Regions from separate parts of the Homo sapiens genome. Here region 2 is linked to region 1. The links are contacts of gene promoters, found by promoter capture Hi-C in human tissues and cell types (Jung and others, 2019). All regions are on one chromosome and are shown on one strand. Each heading gives the region's core, a stretch centred on a gene start or on the middle of the fragment in contact. The rest is flanking DNA. Distances are from core to core; before and after follow the strand shown. Region 1 holds the start of TTC7B (tetratricopeptide repeat domain 7B). Region 2 overlaps TDP1 (tyrosyl-DNA phosphodiesterase 1).

Evidence for each region. The method cuts DNA at HindIII sites, captures the fragments that hold promoters and counts their contacts. A contact is called where the count stands out against the background at its distance.
Region 2: a contact is called between a fragment that was not itself captured here and the fragment with the promoter of TTC7B in region 1, in 1 of the 25 tissues and cell types used here (dorsolateral prefrontal cortex).

What each region holds. Positions count from the first base shown.
Region 1 is chr14:90,814,620-90,818,714 of GRCh38, forward strand. TTC7B (tetratricopeptide repeat domain 7B) reads right to left here and starts at 1,811. Exons shown (of 20, transcript NM_001010854.2): 1 at 1,556-1,811. The coding sequence starts at 1,676. RefSeq lists a silencer at 1,805-1,984. The HindIII fragment of the contact is 18,929 bases long and covers 1-4,095 here.
Region 2 is chr14:89,979,740-89,983,834 of GRCh38, forward strand. It overlaps TDP1 (tyrosyl-DNA phosphodiesterase 1), which reads left to right. Exons shown (of 17, transcript NM_018319.4): 8 at 801-893. Among named protein-coding and RNA genes, the nearest start is that of TDP1, 26 kb to the left of the region's middle. The HindIII fragment of the contact is 3,146 bases long and covers 792-3,937 here.

The DNA.
Region 1 (4,095 bases), core at 561-3,060:
TCAACCTGCACAGAAGGTGTCATTATGCCTACACCGCTGGGAAGCCACAAAGTAGACCCAGGACTGTGCAACTCCGAGAGGAAAAGAGAAAATGCTGCAGGTAAGCGGAGAAGCAGGTGAGCCCGACACGGAGGGCAAAGGCAAGCTGCCTCTGGGGCCCAGGGCACTGAACACCATCTCCTCAAAGGCTGACATAACTGAGAAGGGTCCACATTTTCCACCAAGTGGAGCCCGTGTAGGGTCGGTGCTATCTCCATGCCCCTGACACACCATGGCACCTGCGTTCACCCAGAAGGTACCTGCCCACAGCATGCATCCATCATTGAGAGTGCGCAAAACCAAGTTCTAATTTCCAGGCACTAATACCATAGGACACAAACATAAACCACCCTCCAGGAGGACACCTGACATCCCTCTCCTTTCTGGGTAGTCTGAAGTGAGAAGGTTGAAAATAGTGCAGATGTCCTTTCTTAGAGCAGCCCCGCCATCCATTCATTCACTCTTTCATTCATTTGTTCAGCCAACATGTGCTCACTGGGCCTGGGGAAGCCCAGGATGAAATGAGACAAACCCTCTGCCCTCTGGCCACGGTGTGCTGGTGCCTGCGCTTTAGGCGGGTACTAAAAGACAAGCAAATATTAAAGATACTCGCTTCCAAAACAAATAAGGCCACGTGGAGCTGTGCACTGGAATGGGATTCTGGATGCAATTTTATTTGATTGGGTACAAGAACCAATCCAGTTAAAGGGGTCATGAACCAACTCCAGGCACCAGGCTCCTACTCAGAGGCTGCCTCAGACCCCCTTCTGGCCCAGGCACCAACCCCTCACCCACCCAACTCCATCTCCCGACATTCTTCAACCACATTCCCATCTCGCTCCACAATATTCTCCCTCCAGGTCCCCCTGACTCTATTTCTCCTCTATTCCCAACCCTGACCTCTCTAGGTCGGCAGCCTTGATGCTACTTCTCCGAACGCCAGGACGCACATCCCAGCCTGCTTTCTACCACCACCCCACACACCTCGAGTCTGCGCTTCCACCCAGAACCCCTTAAACACCATATGTTTACAAACCAGATTCCCCAGGGGTCTATGTACAACACCCCATTCTCAAGACCCCATAAACACATCCTGATTCCCTGAGCACACCATACACACACTGTGGACTTCACCCATGTCCTGAGGGACCCCCTCACCCCATCACCTCCAACTTCTTGGAAGCCCCAGGCCGGCCCCTGACCTCCTGTGGTCCCAGTGGAGCAGCGGACTCGCTGAGACCCCCGGACACCCCAGACTCCGCAGAAGCCCGCCCTGCACGCTTGAACCCCAGGCGCCGGGACAGCCCCTGGCGCCCCCCCGGGCCCCCACACCGCGTGACTCCGGGGCACCCGGGCTCCCCCAGGCCCCGGTCCCGCGCACATCCCCTGGGCCGCAGCTCCCTCGCGGCCCGGCCGCGCCCCTGCCCGCGCCCCGCGCCCGGCCGCGCCTCGGGGGCCCGTTCCCGCGGAGGCCGCGGCGCCCCCCGCAGCCCAGGCCGGCGCGCCCGGAGCGTACCGTTGGCGATGAGCTTGGCCGACAGCTGCTTGACGAGCTCAGGGATCCGCTCCCACTGGCACTCGGAGCGGCAGCGCTCGATCTCCGTCTCCAGCCGCGAGCCTGCCTTCTTGGTCGCCATCGCGGCCTGGCCGGGCCCGGCCGCCCGCCCCGCAGGCCCCACCGCCGCCGCCGCGGCGCCCCCTCGCCGCCTCCCGCCGCCGCCGCGGGCTCGGGCTCCGGCTCCCGGCTCCGCGGCGTAACGGGAGCGCCGGCTGGGGAAGGGGCGGGGAGGCGGGCGGCGGCGGCGGGCGCGGCGGGGCCCCGGGCGCCGCGAGGAGCGGCCCCTGCCGGCCAGGGCCGGAGCCGCAGCACTGACCGGGGCCGGAGCCAGGGCTGGGGCAGGGGCGGGGGCTAGGGCGGGAGACAGGGGCCCGAGGGAGGAAAGGCGGGGTGGGCATGGAGGACAGGGAGAGGGACTGGGGGTGTCTGGGGCGGGGTGAAGACCGAGGGGAAGTGGGGATGGGGGTGGGGGAGCGGGGTAGGAGAGAGATCTGACCAAGGGCGGGTGAGGGGTCTGGTGGGGTAGGGGTCTGGGCAGGATGAAGGGGAGGGAGAGGATCGGGAGGGAGCTAGCGACAGCCTGGGAGCGGGTTGGATCCCCAGGAGTAGGGCCAAGAAAGGGCAGTGACCCTGGGGAAGGTCACCGCCCGGTGGGACCAGTGAGCCAGGTGTGAGGGGTGGGGGGAGGCCTGCCCGAGTTTGTCCTGCCATCTCAGGTGGCCAGCGGTTCCCTGGGGCCCGGTTGGCCTGTGCCCCTTAGCAGATGCCCCTCTGCCCCGCAGCCTTAGCCCCTACCCAGCCAGAGGTGGACGGAGACTCCTCCATCCCAGGCAAGGCACAGCACCTGCCAGGGGTGCCCTAGATGGCTGAGCGGAGCCAGGCAGGGGCTGCCACTCTCACACGCCAGCTCTCGGACCCCCTGAGGGGAAGGCACAGTCACTGGTGGGGCCTCCTGTCTTGGCCACCTAGACTGAGACCTAGGGAGGTGTCCCTCTGTGTTCTCTCAGTGAATCAACTGTCTAGTGATCACCTACTATGTGCTGGGCGCTGCTTTAGGTGCCAGAGATAGAATTGTGAGCTAAAAAAACAAAATTCCTGGCTTGAGAGAGCTTACATTCCAGTTTGGGGGAAAAATAAGCAAAATAAAATAGTAAACTAGACTGTAAAAATGGCTATTTGAAGAAACAGGGAAGGGTTCAGTGAGGAACATAAAGAGTTGGGACAGGCGGGTGGCTCATGCCTGTAATCCCAGCTACTCAGGAGGCTGAGGCAGGATGATTGCTTGAGCCCAGAAGGTGGAGGCTGCAGTGAGCAGTGAACGCACTTCAGCCTGAGCAAGTGTTGCCATTTAAAATGGAGCAGTCAGGGATGGCCTCACGGAGGTGGCATTAGACTTGAAGAAACTAAGGGGGAGCCATGAGGATATCTCTGGGGGAGGAGTATCCCAGGCAGAGAACACCACAAGTGCGAAGGCTCTGGGGTTAGAGCACACTGGGTGGGATGGAGAAATGGCAGAGGCCAGAGGGGCTGGGTGGAGCGAAGGAGAGGGGCCGAGGCAGGAGATGAACTCTGAGAGGTTGGGGGGAGTTCTGTGTAGTGCCTGGTGGGCCATTATAAGACCTTGGCTTTTGGCTGGGCACGGTGGCTCACGCCTGTAATCCCAGCACTTTGGGAGGCCGAGGTGGGCGGATCACGAGGTCAGAAGATCGAGACCGTCCTAGCTAACATGGTGAAACCCGTCTCTACTAAAAATATTTTTAAAAATTAGCCGGGCGTGGTGGCAGGCGCCTGTAGTCCCAGCTGCTGGGGAGGCTGAGGCAGGAGAATGGTGTGAACCCGGGAGGCGGAGTTTGCAGTGAGCTGAGATGGCAGCACTGCACTCCAGCCTGGGCAACAGAGAGAGACTCCGTCTCAAAAAAAAAAAAAAAAACTTTGACTTTTACTCTGGTGACATGGAGCAGCCCTGCAGGGCTTTTCACGGAAGAGTGGCATGATCAGACCTACACTTTGGACTATCACTGTGACTGCAGTGTTGAGAATACTGCCAGGGAAATAGCTGTGGTGGTGGCAGTGTTGGATTCTGGGTCCTGCATTTGAGAGTGAAGCGGTCAGTCTGGAAGGTTCCGTAGCCCGCCCGCAGTCACAAGGAGGCACTGAGGGGTCGTCGTCATTCCTTCTGGGTGCCCTTACTCCAACTTTCCAAGAGCAGTCACACGCAGGTTCTTATCCCCACCACAACTCCCCCACCACCGGAGTTGATGAAGAACACACACTGTGGACCTCAGTTTACCAATGAGGAGGCTGAATCACAGACATTTAAGAGAGGTGAGGAGGAAAGATAAGGAGATGTGTTCTGATGTGACCAGTATCACTTTCAGGTGCCTCAGGGACTGCCAAGGTGATGGAAGTTGAGCTGACAGGCCCTGGACACTGTGAACAGCCCAGGGAAAGGGGAACTAGAACGTTAGAGTTTCAACAGGGGACCCTTTAGTGCCCTG
Region 2 (4,095 bases), core at 1,115-3,614, 830 kb before region 1:
GTCTGGAGCTCAGGTCTTCAGACTTCAAATGGAAAGCTTTTATCTATATCCTATTCCCTCTCTCTCACTGCAATTAAAATAAGAGAAATGTGTTCGACTAGAGGCCTGGGGAGGTCACATGGAAAAAGAGTGGACCCCACTAAGTCTGATTTGGGTTAATGAAGAATAGGCAAGACTTACCCCAAGCCCAGATAACACACTTTTGACAAGTGTGGCATCTATGGATACAAAAAACCACTAATGGTAATGAAGCATCTTTTAAACTTCTTAAAATTTCAACTCATAATAAGAAATACACTTTACATTTCAGTGTATTGTGCACTAACATACCTTTGTGCCAAAACAAAATTTCATGAACCAGTAATTAAATATATACAGTATACCAATTTATGCTATTTTAGTTGTTTAAAAAATGCCAGCCATGATGCAGCAAGAGGTTGTTGACCATACTTTGAATCTCAAACACCAGACCAGAAGGTTCCAACGGTCCCTAGTAGTAACAGGTAATGCTGAATAGATAATAAGGGGCCAGGCTGGAGGGATGTGAAGTGCCAGGACTGGCACTAGGGTTGAAAGTTCTTTTACCACCAAATACTCAACCTTTCTGAAAGGTTTTCATCCTATCACTTAGGCAGACTTTCATCATGGTAATGTATAGAAGGGAAGATTATAAATGTTAAGTTTGGGTAATATGAGAGTTTAAAAAAATTCCTTTAGCTATGTATTACATTTGCATTGGAAAGGTATTACATATTTTGAAAGTACTATTAATGCTTTTTGATCCTTTGCTGTTTTTAAAGGAAAATGATGCTGCTGCTCTATGAAGAAGGCCTCCGGGTTGTCATACACACCTCCAACCTCATCCATGCTGACTGGCACCAGAAAACTCAAGGGTTCGTAGGGGCCTGCTCACTTCCTGGCAGTGTGTGTGTTGATAAAGGTCAAAAGCCAGAACATTCACTTTATTCTTTTTTCTATTTTTTTTTTAAGTTGTAAAAATAACACACATGGCCTAGAAAAAGAGTTGTATGCAGAAAAAGTTACTGTATTCTTTTACTACCTGCCCCATTCTACCTTCTTGGGGTAACCAGTGTTAACAGGAGCATCATCATCCACAGCTACCTCTGCTGTACATGTAAACATACATTACTATTTACACACAGTAGTCTCTTCCTAGTTTTTAGAGAAGTGGCATCATATACACTCTACAGCTAAGTAGAGGGCACAGCACATGCAGAGATCTGAGGCAGAAAAGGGGTTACAGAATGAAAGATCTGAACCTATTGTTTTCCTAGTAGGATTTACCAGATAGCTTTTGTGATTTCTCCTTACTCATGTACCCACCTGTATTTTTGCTTACCACTTCCCAAACAGGAATCAAAGGAAAAGTTGGGGTAGGGCCTGGTCATGTTAATAGTGTGCTAAATATTTCCCCACTCCCCCAGTTGGTGTATTTTCTTTGAAACAAATTTAAGCTGGTGTCTTTTTAGAGCCTTTAGTGTGTTAATAAAGTTGTGAATCTCCAAGAGAAGAACTGAATACGAAAGCTTTTATGAACTTTTTAAACTACTAACCCTCTGTACTTGGTGCACATATGCTAGATCCAGGTTTTGATCCCCTTTTCAAGAGGGGTTTGCTTTTTAAAAGGGAGCTTTAGGGATTTGCTCAACAAGTTCAGCTATTGTTCTTGATTATGACTAACTTTAATTTTCTTTTGTTTAAGCCATTTTGTACATCTCTGCCTGTGCTAGAGAAGAGCTGGTTAACAAACAGCCTTCTGTGTTGGGAGAAACTCGGACGTTTGTCTAGCACCATTTCCAGGTTCACGTTTTCTCTGTCATCCTCCTCTGCCTCACCCTGCCCCATATCATTGCCTAGCTTGGGCTAGAACTCCTAATTTGGAGTGTATTACTTTCAGCTAAGCTCTGCTGAGCCCAGGTTACATCTTTGTTTTGTTTGTTTTTTTGAGACGGTCTCACTCTGTCACCCAGGTTACAATGCTGTGATGCGATCACGGCTCACTTTAACCTCAACCTCCTGGGCTCAGGTGATCCTCCCACCTCAGCCTTCTGGGTAACTGGGACTGCAGGCACGTACCACCACACTTGGCTAACTGTCTTTATTTTTTGTAGAGACAAGGTTTTGCCTAGTTGCCAAGTGATCCGCCTGCCTCAGCCTCCCAAAGTGCTGAGATTACAGGCATGAACCACCGTGCCTGGCCCCAAGTTACATCTTAGTTTGAGCTGAAATAGCTTTCCAGTTTCCTTCAACAGGTCTTGCTTCAACCTGAGTGCACTGCGCAGGACAAATGTAATCTCCCTCCCTTAAAGCAGTCCTTCAGAGTTTGAAAGGGAGTCTTGTTTCTGAGCCTTACATCTCTTGTTCCCTCCCCACTCCCTTGCCCCACCATAGCATGTGGCTTTGAGACCCCTAGCTGTAATTCCTGGTCGCTTTTCTATAAACATGTTATAATTTTTCAGTATCCCACTGAAAATATGCTTTTCAAAATGAAGTGTGGCTCTGACTGGTCCAGGGTTGAGGGGATAGCTGCTTGGTCTCTAAGTCTCAGCTGTAGCACTTTCTTGATCTACTGAATTTATGGTTAACTATGCCTTTGGTACCCCAAGAGCTTCTAAGCCAGTTCTCCTGAGCTGCCAGATTGGGTTTGGGGATTCATGTGGCCCTATCAAAAGGCAATGAGATTAATGTAGCTTGTTCTCATGAAACAATGTTACTAAAGGGATTTCTCAGGTTAGCTCTCAGCCTCACGTGGTTCCAAGAATCCCACCCTGGGCCTCCAGCTCCTTCTGAAGTTGGAAGCTTAGCTTACAGGCAGTAGTACTGTCTTGGGATTCTCTGGGGTGGTTGCCAGGAGGGAAGAGGCAGGGATAAGGGCTTGGGTGTTTCTTTTATTTAAAAAAAGTATTTTTTAATTTAAAATTTTGGAAAACTTATTGACTAGGTAGGAACGGTTCAAAACTCAGAAAGTACCAAGACTATGAAATCTTCCTCTGGCAGCCATCCTGGTGTGGGATCCTATTATTTCATGCTTGGCCTATATTCTACTCTCTAATGTTTTGCATTTCATGTTATTTGTGGTAATTTTAAAACTTTTGAAAGCAGTTTTTGTATACAATCTCACTTCATAATTGGTCTACTGTGGTTCTGCTAATCCCCTTCAGCTGCCTCATGATCCACCTGTTGATTTCTCACTTTTTAAAATTAGAACAAGAGTTGCATCCAAAGCTCACAGTAAAGAATAAAATAAAATTATTTGGCTCATTATAATAATTTTCTCATTTTGTGATGTGTTAAAAATGCCTCATATCTCAGCATCTTAGTTTAGAAAGTCATTTGTCTTGTTTCTCATCCAGAACTCACCTGTGAGTGAATCTCTGATCCAGGAGGAGCCTCACTCAGCCTGGGAACTTTGAGGTGCTATTGCAAGGGGAGGTCCTCCACGTCTGTCCAGCCCAACCTGGTCATTTTACACACGGAGGCAAAGGCCCAGAGAGATCACAGAGCTTACCCAAAATGGTATAGTCAGCTAGTCGATCTGGGTCCAGAACATGGGCTCCAGCCCTCATCACACCATGCTACCTCCTGTGCTAAGTGTCTCCCCAGGGTGGGAAGCAGGGGTATGAAATGCCCCTTGCTAGAAACTTGCAGAGTTGAGAAGATGTACGGCCGAGAGTCCTTGCAGTTCTGGATGCCTTCTGCCCTGGTGGCCTGCATCTTGCCAGTCTCCTTCAGGGGCTGCCAGGTGAAAGAGAAATTGGGCAGTTTCTCTTTCAGCTTAATAGATAGAACCCAGGGTGGGGAAAAGGAGAGTAGCCACAGAAGGGGAAAAAAGTAACACCTGATACTTTTGACTGCTCCTGTAAGTCATTGCTTTGCAACAGCCCAGTGAGGCAGCCTTGTTAACCCCACTTTTTTGCATTTGAAGAAACTGAAGCACAAGAGGTTTGAAGCCATTTTAGTAATCTACTGTGGAGCAGTTTATAGAAGGATTGGGATTAGATATGATTGTTTTCTATTTATGGATATAATGTAGAAGTTTTGGCAAAGAGCATTGTTTTCCTCTAGGGAAAAAGA